Regions from separate parts of the Homo sapiens genome. Here region 2 is linked to region 1. The links are contacts of gene promoters, found by promoter capture Hi-C in blood cells and fetal thymus (Javierre and others, 2016). All regions are on one chromosome and are shown on one strand. Each heading gives the region's core, a stretch centred on a gene start or on the middle of the fragment in contact. The rest is flanking DNA. Distances are from core to core; before and after follow the strand shown.

Region 1 (6,255 bases), core at 2,244-4,743:
ATGATCTGTTTCTACTATGGATTGGAAACTTGTTTCTTGAACAAGTCTTGAAGATCTTGGTCATTTTATGACAATGGATCTAAAATGTCAGCATCATGCAAAGTGCAACGGAATAGTGAATTTTGCTCTAAAAGAGCATGAACAAGTCTTTCTAATGTTTTGTACAGTGCCTGGCACTCTGTGGGTGCTCAATAAATGGATAGGAGTTTTCATTTGAAGCATATTTGAATTTTTAAAATAAAGTGTTTTATTCCCTTAAGTTATTTAGAGTGTGTTTATTAAATGAAACCCATTTTTTAAAGTAGAAAGGAATAACTAAAGCTTAAACCCAGTGAATTGCAGATCGAAAAAAGGATTTGTTTATTTATATTACTGATCTTTTAAAAAATAGACTACTGTAGCAGTACTTTAAGATAATTTACAAGTTGACACTGCCTTTCAAAACCCTGGCCTTTTATGTATGAGAAGATAGCTTTGTATTTGCCTTTTGTATTTTAATACATAAATCAGTTAAGCTGTTTCTCTAATTGCAATTAATAATTGATTTAAAAATTTTCCATATTAGTAATGTATTAAAGATGCAGTAGCTCTGTTGAAGTGAAAACTATAGCAAGAAATTTCTAAAGTTAATTTTTCTCATCCAACATAAATGGAATATTAGAAGTTTTACTGAATGTTATTTTATTTTTACTTTTTTAAAGGGACTCTAAAAGTTTAAGGTGTTATTTACTACACGTAAATATTCGTGTAGTATACTACACGAATTCGATTGCATACTACATGTTCAGATTGCTGGGTAAGGATGTTAGAAATGAAATTGGTTTTGGTCACCATTGCTAGTGGATGTAAAGAAATGACTGTGGTAGCAAGTTAGAATGCCATGATATGGAGCCATTTACCCTGCCATTCATTTTTCACTTCTCAAAAGGAATGATGTTTCTATATCGTTTGTTAAATTTTCTAACATGCCCATGGAGGAACGCTCTTGAATGCTCATTTGAGGAGCATACAGTGTTGTCTTTGTCAGTATTTGGGGTTTTATCTTTTTCTGATTGATGGAATTGCAGCAGGATGAATAAATACATAGGCCATTAATATATATGATGAGCAAATGTGTTGAAAATTACAGTTTTTACAGGAATAGGCAGTTATGCTTTTACAGCTTAGGACAGGAGATTATTTGATTTGGAATTGTGGTGATGAAATTTTCATGGAGTGTTAGGGCCAGGGCTTTTGCTCGTGGTTTGGAAAAGATGTTAGTAAGCACCAAAGGGTGATGGCATTGTCCCAAGGACAAATAATAATAGCGCAACATTTCTACAGTTTGTTTTTTTAACATTAAAAATAAATCTAAAATGGCAATAATGGAAATAACATATAGATCAGTAGACAAACCAGTTGGAAATTTTACCGTTTAGCTTATGTATATCTTTTTTTCATTGTCCATCTTTAAGCTTTTATTTCCACATCTTTTCCTTTTTTTTCCTTATAGTTTCTGGGTTTATTTATTTGTTTATTTATTATTATTATTTTTTGAGACGGAGTTTTGTTCTTGTTGCCCAGGCTGGAGTGCAATGGTGCAATGTCGGCTCACTGCAACCTCTACCTCCCGGGTTCAAGCGATTCTCCTGCCTCAGCCTCCCAAGTAGCTGGGATTACAGGCATGCGCCACCATGCCCGGCTAATTTTGTATTTTTAGTAGAGATGGGGTTTCTCCATGTTGGTCAGGCTGGTCTCGAATTCCTGACCTCAGGTGATCCGCCTGCTTTGGCCTCCCAAAGTGCTGGGATTACAGGTGTGAGCCACTGCGCCTGGCCTAGTTTCTGGGTTTTTTTGAGGCATTTCATTTTGAATCAAATTCACATGTATTTCTAAGCCTTATCCCAATATAGCTTTTCTGTATCACCCATGAAGGAAGCATAAAAAAGAACTTCAAATGCACCTACCTCACTCATATCAAAACTTTCATCTGCAGCAGAAAGCTGACTATCTGAAATTATATATTTTTCAGTTCTTAGAAATAATTATTTCTGGAAAATTTTTCATGGATGCTACAACTAGGTATAACTTATTACAGAAAAGGAAGGTAGTATGACCCAAAGCAAATTCAAAAATTTTAAGTTTTGTTTTGCATATTGAATGAAAGAAAAGACAAAGACTTTTTAAAGGGAGTGATTTCCTCTTGGGTATTATGTTTTTTGCTCTAGGGTCATTTGAAAACAATACTGACGAGATTCGCTTTTCTAGTATAGGTATAACAATATTACATTTATAAAAATGTGAGTACTGGTAGCTATAAGATTTGGGACAGATAAATCAACCTGTTCATCTTGAGTTTATACACAGGCAAGAGAACTGAAGCAAAAGGATTATCTTAGGTTTCTGCTGTGCCATTCTAGGATTTTTATAAAATTAAACTAAGTGGGTAAATATAGCCCTCTAGTGGTTCTGTTTTATGCTTACACTGTTAACTTTGGTGCATCTAAGCATTTCTCTAATGTTTACTGATTTTAGGAAACTGAGGAGAATCAGATTTTAATAATGTTAATGGCATAAAGAATATGGGAAAAAAGGTAATAGGGATACCTTATTATTCTAACAAAACATGCTCAGGTTGGTTTTCAGGTTGTAATGTGATAATCCAGAATATTTTTATTCTGTACTTTACAATATCAGTGATTGAATTCAGATACTCTGGCAAAGTATACAATGATTACTATCATCAGATAATATTAATTACTCATGTGCATATCAAACTATAGGGGAAATTAACGGATGGTGGAGTTGATCATATTATATCCATGCTATGAAATACATAGCTACTAATAAATTAGACTTTATTAGATTCTGGGTTTATTAACTTGGATATTATAATACAGCCTTATGGGAAAACAAGTTGCATTATATATATACATTTGTACTTATTTTTTTCCCTCATTTTTATTTACAAGAAGAAAGTGGAGGAAACCTGAAACACTTGTATGAATATGTGTATAAGCAGAGAAAAGCCTAAGAAAGGATATGCACCAAACAATACTGGTACCTTTAGGAGAGTGAGATTTGGAAGTAGGAAGGAGACTACTTCTTTGTCACTAATATTTAAATTGTTAAGAAAAAAAAAACAACAAAAGGAGCCGAAATGGAAAGACTTGAATGGTCAACAGAAAACAGGGACCTTAATCCGAATAGTTTTAGAGGACTAAGGCTGGCTCCTATACTGATTTCCTGAGTTTGTTTATTGTTAAATGGGATGTGTGTGCTTGATAATCTCCTTAGATAGAAGACTGATGCCCAAATAGGTTAAAATGTGTGGTGCTTGGTATTTCTTTTTGTTTTGCTAATAAGCTTTTCCCTTATTCTGGGAATTAAAGTCCTTTCCTCTTTAGCCCAATTAAATTTGTTAAGGGAGGGCCTCTATGAAAAGGCCCTTCTTTGAGGTCTCTAAGTGGAAATGATTGGTCCTAAAAAATCTTTCCTCAGTAGCTCATAAAGCAGTTCATAATTATCGAAGGCTTATTATGAAGGGTGTTTCGGTATCTTCCCTCCAAAATGCTAAGAAATAATTTAGGCAACAGTTCAGACTCTAAAAATGAAGATGGCTCGGTCTTTTCACAGACTGAACACAATATTGTTGCAACTTACTTGATTATGGCAGGTATGGATATTTAAGTAAGTTATTTTTCTTTAGAATGGGTGAAGAAAGGCAGAAGTTTTCAGCATAAGGCATGCATTGTTTCAAGTTCCATATTATTGGCCAACCTTGACAAGTCATTTATCCTGACTTGGCTTGCTCGTTGGTAAATGAGGATGATGATACTCTATTTCTGGGCTGTAAAGATCAAATAAGATAATGTGGGTGAAAGAATAAGGGAAAGCATTGTTAGTGATGGCCATTGCCACAGGTTATTTTGAATTTTGGTAAATAAGAGCAGTGAAGTGGGGCTGAGAAAAGTTTTCTATGTGATAAATAGTTCTTTCATAAAAATCTATGTATTTGATTATTGGATTGTTAAAGTTTTTATTGGAGAAGAGTATGCACCATGGCAAAAACATATTTTTATGTCATTTACTATTCTTATACATAACCCTCATATTTTTGTTCTTGGTGGTAGAATTTAGCTAAGAACTTAAAGGTTCTGGAAAGAAAAAGTCCTAAGAAGACAGAGCAGGGTATATTGTCATTGAGGACAGAGTCTGAAAATTCAGCTTGTTCCAGAATGCTTATTGGAAAACTCTTGAGTTTTGGATTTCATCTTTTAGTATATTTGCAACTGTGAGCATGTATCTTCCCTTTTTGTTCTTCCATTTTCTCATCTGTAAAACAAGGATAAGAATAAGTTATCTGTCATGATTGTTATAAGGAGTAAAATTAAGTGACACATAAATGCCATATAGTAGGTGTTGGACAAATATTTGTTTCTTTTTCCCTTTCCTCCCTACACACTCATTGATGTAAAGGATTGTTTGCAGAAAAAAAGGGATGGGGGAATGACAGAAACTTTTTATCTTTTTAATGTATCATTGAATTGTGTAACTTTTATATTGAGCAATCACTTAATTTTCAACTTTATACTCTAACGAGTTGTAGAAGTAACTCTTATATTGAGTTCATTATTTTTTGGATTGACTTTTATAAAAATTTTCAAACATTCAAAAGTAGAGTGAAAAGTATAACACACCATCCTATACCCAGTTTATAATTGTTTACGTTTCTTCCTTATAATTCAGCGTATTACTTCTAGTACTGGAAATTGAGTTCCTCAGTTAAGTTTTGCGATTTTAGTGACGTTATCTCGTTCATTTGAATACCTCTATGATAAGTACTAGACAAGTTCTAGTTTTTTTGTAATTGCAAAAAAGACTGAGAAAATCTCCTAACAATTACATGGAAATACTTTGTATACAAGTGTTTGGTTTAGTTAGTTATTTGTAGATGACCAAAAAAAAAAAAAATCCAAAAAACAACCAAAACTATCCTTTTTTGACCTGGTTACAAAATTAGCATGCAGAAAATATTCTATTTAGTTCTTATCTCTGTAACAGTAATAATAATAGTAATCTTACTACTACTGCTACTAATGTTATCATTTGAATACTTGCTATATACCAAGCACTGTTCTAAAACCTTACACATACAGAATAATTCATCCTTACACTAATTTAGTAAGTTACTCTTCAGTTTTATTTCTCTAGTTTATACAGATGAAGAGCTTAAGAAACTTGTCCAGCACACACATTTACTAAGCAGCTACACCAGGATTTGAACCCAGGCATTTTGGTTCTAGAGCCCTCACATATAAATCCAAGAGTCAGCTTTATCAAGGTATACAATGAGTGTGTGTTGTTTGTGTTTCTGGTGGATCCACTGAAGGAAGCATAGCTGAACTCTTTATGCTTTTGTTCTGCCCCTGTATCAAGCATCTATTTTTCTTTAGATCCCCTAACTTTCCTCCTTTAACAAAACTCACTTAAAGTTGCAAATCAAAACCAAAACTATGAGGAAAGGGTGTAGTGAAAGCATTTATTTCATTCGTTACTTTTACCAAGGGCCTATTTAGATTTTTTATTTAATTTTTAATTTGATCTTTCATTTATAGTTTGGCTCCTATAAACTGTTACAACTTCCAGTGCAACAGACATTTTGTTAATTTAGTGTCCTTGAGCACTCTCCCTTTCCCCAGTTAAGGCTGGGAGGTAAGAGGACATGGTGAATTTGAGGATCTGAAATAAATCATTATGTTTGAACTGTAAAATGAAGGGTGAGAGGTTGAAAAAGATGGCTGAGTACCAGACAGTGATGAGCCGTGTAAGTTTTAAAGGTGACAGGGAGTCACTGAAGGGTTTGAAATGGGAGTGACATGATCTGATTTGTGTTTTAGAAATGTGCTATAGTGGTAGCTAAGGGACCACATAGGAGGCCATTGCAGTGATTCTGAGGAGGGAGTAATCGCAGTGGGGACAGAAAAAAGTAGATACATTCAAGAGCCAGAAGGTGGAATTGATGATTGGATGTTGGGATTGTGGGAGAAGGAGAGAAGTATCAAAGATGATGCCTAGGTTTCTTTTTTGAGCCACTGAATAGATGGTGATGCTCTTCATCAGATGGGAACACACCTGGGGAAGAACAGGTTTGAGGCAGGAGAAAAAGTCTCTCAGTTCAGTTTGAGAGGTGTCCAATAAAAAGCTGGACACATGGGTTTGAGTGTCCGGAGGCTGAAAAATATCAGGGTATAGCCTTGGGTATGAAGAAATTAC
Region 2 (6,159 bases), core at 2,004-4,503, 250 kb before region 1:
TTCTCTCTGAAAAACTTAAAAAGTAATTTGAGCTAGAACAGGAACATTTGACACCTTATTGGGTTCATTATAAGCCGCCCTCCAGGCGTATCATAATAGAAAAGGATATAGTCTTGTACACTTACACACTAAGGAAGAGAGAGAAATACATTATAATGGTTAAATTAGAATTTGAGGCCAGAACTGAAGTTTATGCAATAACATCTGATAAGGAAGAAAATAAATATAGCTGAGAAAAGATGCTGACGATATGGTTTTAGGGAGGACTTACTTTAGAGGAATTCTGGTGATTAATAGCTAAATGAGCAATAATAGTTATTAAAAGTATTATGCATATCTGGTACATTAATTTAGTAGCATTTTATAGACAAGCTTGTTATAAATATGTTCTAAAAACTGGAAATCTTAGATATTTAGGATAGTTGAAAGATGTTAACTAACTGTATCTCAGAATAAAACGTGTCTTAGTATATAATATCATAACTGACACTAATTCACTCTAGTTCAGGGTATATTTAGAAAGAGATTAATAACTATATTAGCATGACTTCATATAATGAAGTCATGTTATTTACTTAATTACGTCACTTATATACTTGGTTTTTTAATTTGTCAGATTTGGATGTCACTATTGATCAGTTTCAAATGCATAACTTTGAGATATTAGATATATTTTCAATGGCTTTTCATACTACTACAATATAATTATTGCTTTATATAATGAAATGGCTAGATTGCCATAGCTACATTATATATTTCTTGAACTAGTCACTCTTGTGTATTGTCTGTGGAATATTAGTAAGGCTTCAATTAATGAGTTGTCCAAAGTGCTATTTATAATATGTACATATATGTAGTATTGGAAGTATTTAATATTATTATTACTGATATAAACATATTATAAACTGTACCTGTGCCCAGCAATGTCAAAACATAAAATATCATTGTAGGTCCTGTGGAATTGTCTTTTTCTGGAGTCTTATTATTCTCATCCTACACTGCACCAGACTAATCTGCACTTAGTAAGCACATATTAACCATTGCTTTAAGAATATTAGGAACAGATTGGGCACGGTGGCTCACGCCTGTAATCCCAGCACTTTGGGAGGCCGAGGTGGGCAGATCATGTGGTCAGGAGATAGGGACCATCCTGGCTAACACTGTGAAACCCCATCTCTACTAAAAATACAAAAAAATTAGCCACGCGTGGTGGTGGGCACCTGTAGTCCCCACTACTCGGGAGGCTGCGGCAGCAGAACCGCGTAAACCTGGGAGGTGGAGCTTGCAATGAGCGGAGATCGCGCCACCACACTCCAGCCTGAGCGACAGAGTGAGACTCCATCTCAAAAAAAAAAAAAAAGGAAGAGTGGTAGAAACAAAACCGATTTAGCAATGCTAGGAAAAGGTTGTTTCTCTTAATGGGGGAGAAAAGTATGTATAGGATGAGGGAGTCCTGGCTTGGTAGTTGTGTACAAAGGATCTGGAAGTTTCCGTTGATCCACTCATGAATGATGGATTCTAGAAGCTAGTATGGCTCCTAACTAATTGAAGAGAAATGCAGCATCTGATTACAGCAAGAAACAGTTCCATTTCATTACATTGGGATTGTCACATTGATTGTCAGACTGAGTCAAGGGCATTGTGTTTTGTTACTGGGGCAGTACTTTACAAAGAACACTAACAAAGCTGGACAGGGAGGTGCATTCAGAAGATGATTAAGATGGTGAGAGTTCTTGTAGGAGATGATTAAAAGGGTTGAATTTTTTTTTTTTTTTTTTTTTTTGAGACAGAGTTTCGCTCTGTTGCTCAGGCTGGATTGCAGTGGCGCAATCTCGGCTCACTGCAGCCTCCACTTCCCAGGTTCAAGCTATTCTCCTGCCTCAGCCTCCCAAGAAGCTAGGATTACAGGCGCGCCACCACCATGCCCGGCTAATTTTTGCGTTTTTAGTACAATCAGAGTTTTACCGTGTTGGCCAGACTGGTGTTGAACTCCTGGCTCTGCCTCCCAAAGTGCCAGGATTATAGGTGTCAGCCACTGTGCCCGACTGGGGCTGCATATTTTTAATCTAGTGAAAAAGAAGCTGAGGAAAAGCAAGATATTTGCATTCAAATATCTGAGATGGTATCATGTGAAAGAAGGTTGTCATTCTGTGTTGCTTCCAAGCAAGGAAATTACTCCCAAGATAGAGCAGAATAGGTAGGCAGAGTTCAGCTCAGTTCAAGAAAATTTTTGTATCCATTCTGGCTGTTCCCTAATAGACTGCTTCTTGAAGTGTAGGACTCCCAAGTTTCTAAAATAACTCAGGCAGAAGCTAAAGAAGCACTGGAAAAACTGCCAACACAGCTAGAGCCTGGTGCTGGAGAAGCCATCTATATCTATGCAATAGGAGCCTGTGAAGTGAACACACCCGAACCAGGAAGCAAAATCTTTTCCTCCGTCAGTGGCTCTCTAGTGTCCTCTACTGAAAAAACTTCAGTGCCAGTCAGCAAAGGAAAAATATTTAAAGGTCCCAGATCTATTTTCACAGAGCAGTCAAAAAGGGAGAATTTGAGGGCATATACAAGACGTTAATAACCATCATATGAGGAATGAGACAGCAGCTGTTGTGCAGTACTTGAAGGTGGCAGCTGCACTCATGAGCACTGCCACGCTGGTCAGGCCAAGGAGGGATGGGAGACAGAGCCGGACTGGTCAAGCACTGATAACGAAGTGCTCATTTTAAATACAGTGTTAGTGCCTAGAATAGAAATCAGGGAAGCAGCACTTGTTCCAGGGACAGAGAATCCAACCCAGAGATGGATTGGGTAAGACAGAGATCCAAAAAAAGTATGAGACTTAACAATTGCATGAGAAGTTAGACTGAGTAGAAAGAAAGATGGGTAGATTATTGAGAAGCCAAAAAGTTAGCTTAAATAGGAGCATTTGAGACCCAGGGCTGCCGCAGGTCAGAATGGAAGCTGAGGTGATCTTAATCTCTACGCTTCCTTTCATCGCTGATGTTCTCTGAGGTCCCTTGGGTACCCAGCTTTGATATCTATCACAATGTCAGAAACCACTGAGGTTTGGAGATTGATAAACTCAGATGCCTTGCTAAAATTAGCCTACTGCTGTTCATCCCTTGTTCTGCCCGCTCCTTACCATCTGCCTTCCCCACCAAGGAAAAGCTTTGGCTTATTTATAGTGTAATAACTATTTAGTGAGAGTAATTTTGTTTTAGCTTTTTATTGATATGATATTATTAATCTTTCTGTAAAAGGTCATTGGGGGTTAGACTGTTTGTTGTGAGGTTTTGCCTGAAACCAACTCAAGTGTACTACTCATAACTGTTGTTCATTTGAGCTTAAGCTTGGCTGCTGTACTGACAGGTTATAGTCCATCTTGACATATGAAATTCACTTTATAACGAATCCAGCCACATTCGTTTAATTAGTTTATTCAATTTAGTGGGATTGTGCTGCCATTTAATTAGTGGAGTCTGAATTTGTGCCAGTGACTAAGCATCGTAATCAACAGTTGTTATGCCTGCAATTATGTGAAAACTGACACCAAAGTCTAACCTCTCTTGGAGAGAAAATATACCACCTTAATGTATCTTTCACACTAAATTAGGATGAAATATCTTTATAGTTATCCCATTTATGTAAGGCTATTAGACATTAGAAAAAGGTCATTTCATAAGTATAGCAGTGACCATTAAAATTATTAATATTATAATAGCATAGTAATATTCTTGGTTTTGAAACTTTAGAACAGCTTTGTAGTCTGTGCTAGTCACACTGCTTTCCTGGGAACCTTTTCACTCTTATCTACCTGGTTTAGTCGAATTGGCCATCTTAGTCCAACCTGACCTTCATTCAATTGGCCACCTGACCCAGGAATTTAGAACTAAGTCTAGGATTCTCACCTCTGCTGGCTGCTCTTTTGAATAGTGGAGTTGTACTTGGGGCCATTTGGTGGTGACCATTTTCTACCATGTGGACCAAGAAGCAGTAACAATTCATTTTATAGTGATAAGCAGAATGATGCTGACAGGCAGATAGGAGGAGACGAAATACGGATCAAGAGGACTTCCCAACCTCAATATAACACTCCAGTTCCTGATCCTGAGTCCATTCCTGAGGCTTAATTAAATCCTTCTATGTAGTCTCCGTTAGAGACATTCCTAAGTCCTCAGAGTAAATTTCCATTCTTACTTATGGTAAGTCAAGTAGGTATTTGTTTCTTTCATCCAAATAACAAATATATATGAAGTGATCATTCAAACTTATCAGAAAAACATTAAGAAATGGGTAAAAGACATGAGTGGTTTTCAGAACAGGGAATAAAAATGCAAATAAACATGAAAAGTGGTCAGCCTCACTGATAGTCAAAAAAATGCAAAAACAATAGTAGAAAAAGATAACATTTGCCTTTTTTTTTTTTTTTTTGCCTGTCAAATTGCCAAAGAAAAACAAAAAACTCAAAGCGTAAAGCATGGCATGATGTGGGAACTCTTTTGTGTTGCTAGTGAGAGTGTAAAGTGATTGTATAATTCATGGTCCAACAGGAAACAGATGGCCCACTTAGATTAGGATAATTAGAGGGAAGTTTATACACAAAGGATGATTCACAGAGATGTGGGCGCAGGGGAACCACTAGGGATGGTGTACTAACCTTGGACTACTATTGATGGGCAAGATGAAGGGGTTGTGGACAACAACCCTGTGTCAAGGGCCAAGCCAGATACTCAGAAATTCTTTCTTTTCTTTCTTGTTTTTTTTTGAGATGGAGTCTCACTTTGTTGCCCAGGCTGGAGTGCAGTGGCGCAATCTCGCCTCACTGCAGCCTCTGCCTCCCAGGTTCAAGTGATCCTCCCACCTCAGCCTCCTGAGTAGATGGGATTACAAGCATGTGCCACCACGCCCAGCTAATTTTTGTATTTTTAGTAGAGCCAGGGTTTCGCCATGTGGGCCAGGCTGGTCTTGAACTTCTTACCTCAAGTGATCTGCCTGCCTCCGCCTCCCAAAGTGCTGGGATTACAGGCGTGAGCCACCACACCTGGGCAGAAATTATTTCTTTATGGTTCCTTTAATCATGAACTTTCTAATATTATTAAAACTGAAATGGAAAAATCCTCAGTCCAGGTTAAAACTTCAGGTGCTTTATTCAATCATTTTTAATGACAGAGCTAATTTTTTCCAAGTAAATCCTGTGCAGTTTTTAATACCAGCAGCTTTTGAAGTCAGCACTCCTTTTGTTTCATTAATAATACATGTAAAACGATAGCTAATGCTTAGCATGTGCCATACACTATCATGAGCTTTGTCTCACTCAGTCCCCCTCACTTCTGGGAGTCCTGGGAAATAGGTACTGATATTACCCTGTATTTATTGATCAACTGATAAAGCAACTAAGGCTCAGACCCAGCCTGTCACCTGACTTAATTGAAGTAGAGCTTTGAATATTGCTAAAACTTGATCGTTTCATAGCCTAAAATGGGTACTTGAATTCTTTTTTTTTTTTTTTTTTTTTTTTTTTTTGAGATGGAGTCTCGCTCTGTCGCCCAGACTGGAGTGCAGTGGCGCGATCTCGGCTCACTGCAGGCTCCGCCCCCCGGGGTTCACGCCATTCTCCTGCCTCAGCCTCCCGAGTAGCTGGGACTACAGGCGCCCGCCACCTCGCCCGGCTAATTTTTTGTATTTTTAGTAGAGACGGGGTTTCACCATGTTGGTCAGGATGGTCTCGATCTCCTGACCTCGTGATCCGCCCGCCTCGGCCTCCCAAAGTGCTGGGATTACAGGTGTGAGCCACCGCGCCCGGCCGGGTACTTGAATTCTTTAAGACCTATGAGATTAAATATTAAAAGGGACCACAAAAGTGACCTAGCCACATCAGTTTTATGTGGAAAACTTCAATTAATTAAAAGAGAGTTTGATTCTTTGCATAGTCAGATGTCAAATATGACTTCAAATAATCCAAGAATATTGGGCAAGGAACTTCAAAAGAGTTTGGCTCAGTATCGTATCTGTAGCAAAATTAGAGTTTAGTACATAGCTATCTCTTTTGTTGCTTAAAACCAATCTCTCTCTCTTCCCCCCACACACAAAAAATCCAGTATCTTAAATTTTAAAGTTATCCTCCTAAGTGCTCATAAACCAATATATGGGAATATAGTTCTT

The links. Contacts are between HindIII fragments. The CHiCAGO score rates a contact against its expected background, and 5 or more counts as called.
Region 2: a fragment that was not itself captured here is called in contact with the fragment with the promoter of RRH in region 1 in 1 of 17 cell types (megakaryocytes); the score reaches 5.2 in megakaryocytes.

What each region holds. Positions count from the first base shown.
Region 1 is chr4:109,824,479-109,830,733 of GRCh38, forward strand. It overlaps RRH (retinal pigment epithelium-derived rhodopsin homolog), which reads left to right and starts at 3,494. Exons shown (of 7, transcript NM_006583.5): 1 at 3,494-3,655. The coding sequence starts at 3,550. It overlaps GAR1 (GAR1 ribonucleoprotein), which reads left to right. Exons shown (of 7, transcript NM_018983.4): 7 at 1-259. The HindIII fragment of the contact is 4,893 bases long and covers 3,344-6,255 here.
Region 2 is chr4:109,572,108-109,578,266 of GRCh38, forward strand. All of the region lies in intron 1 of MCUB (mitochondrial calcium uniporter dominant negative subunit beta), which reads left to right. Among named protein-coding and RNA genes, the nearest start is that of MCUB, 15 kb to the left of the region's middle. The HindIII fragment of the contact is 181 bases long and covers 3,164-3,344 here.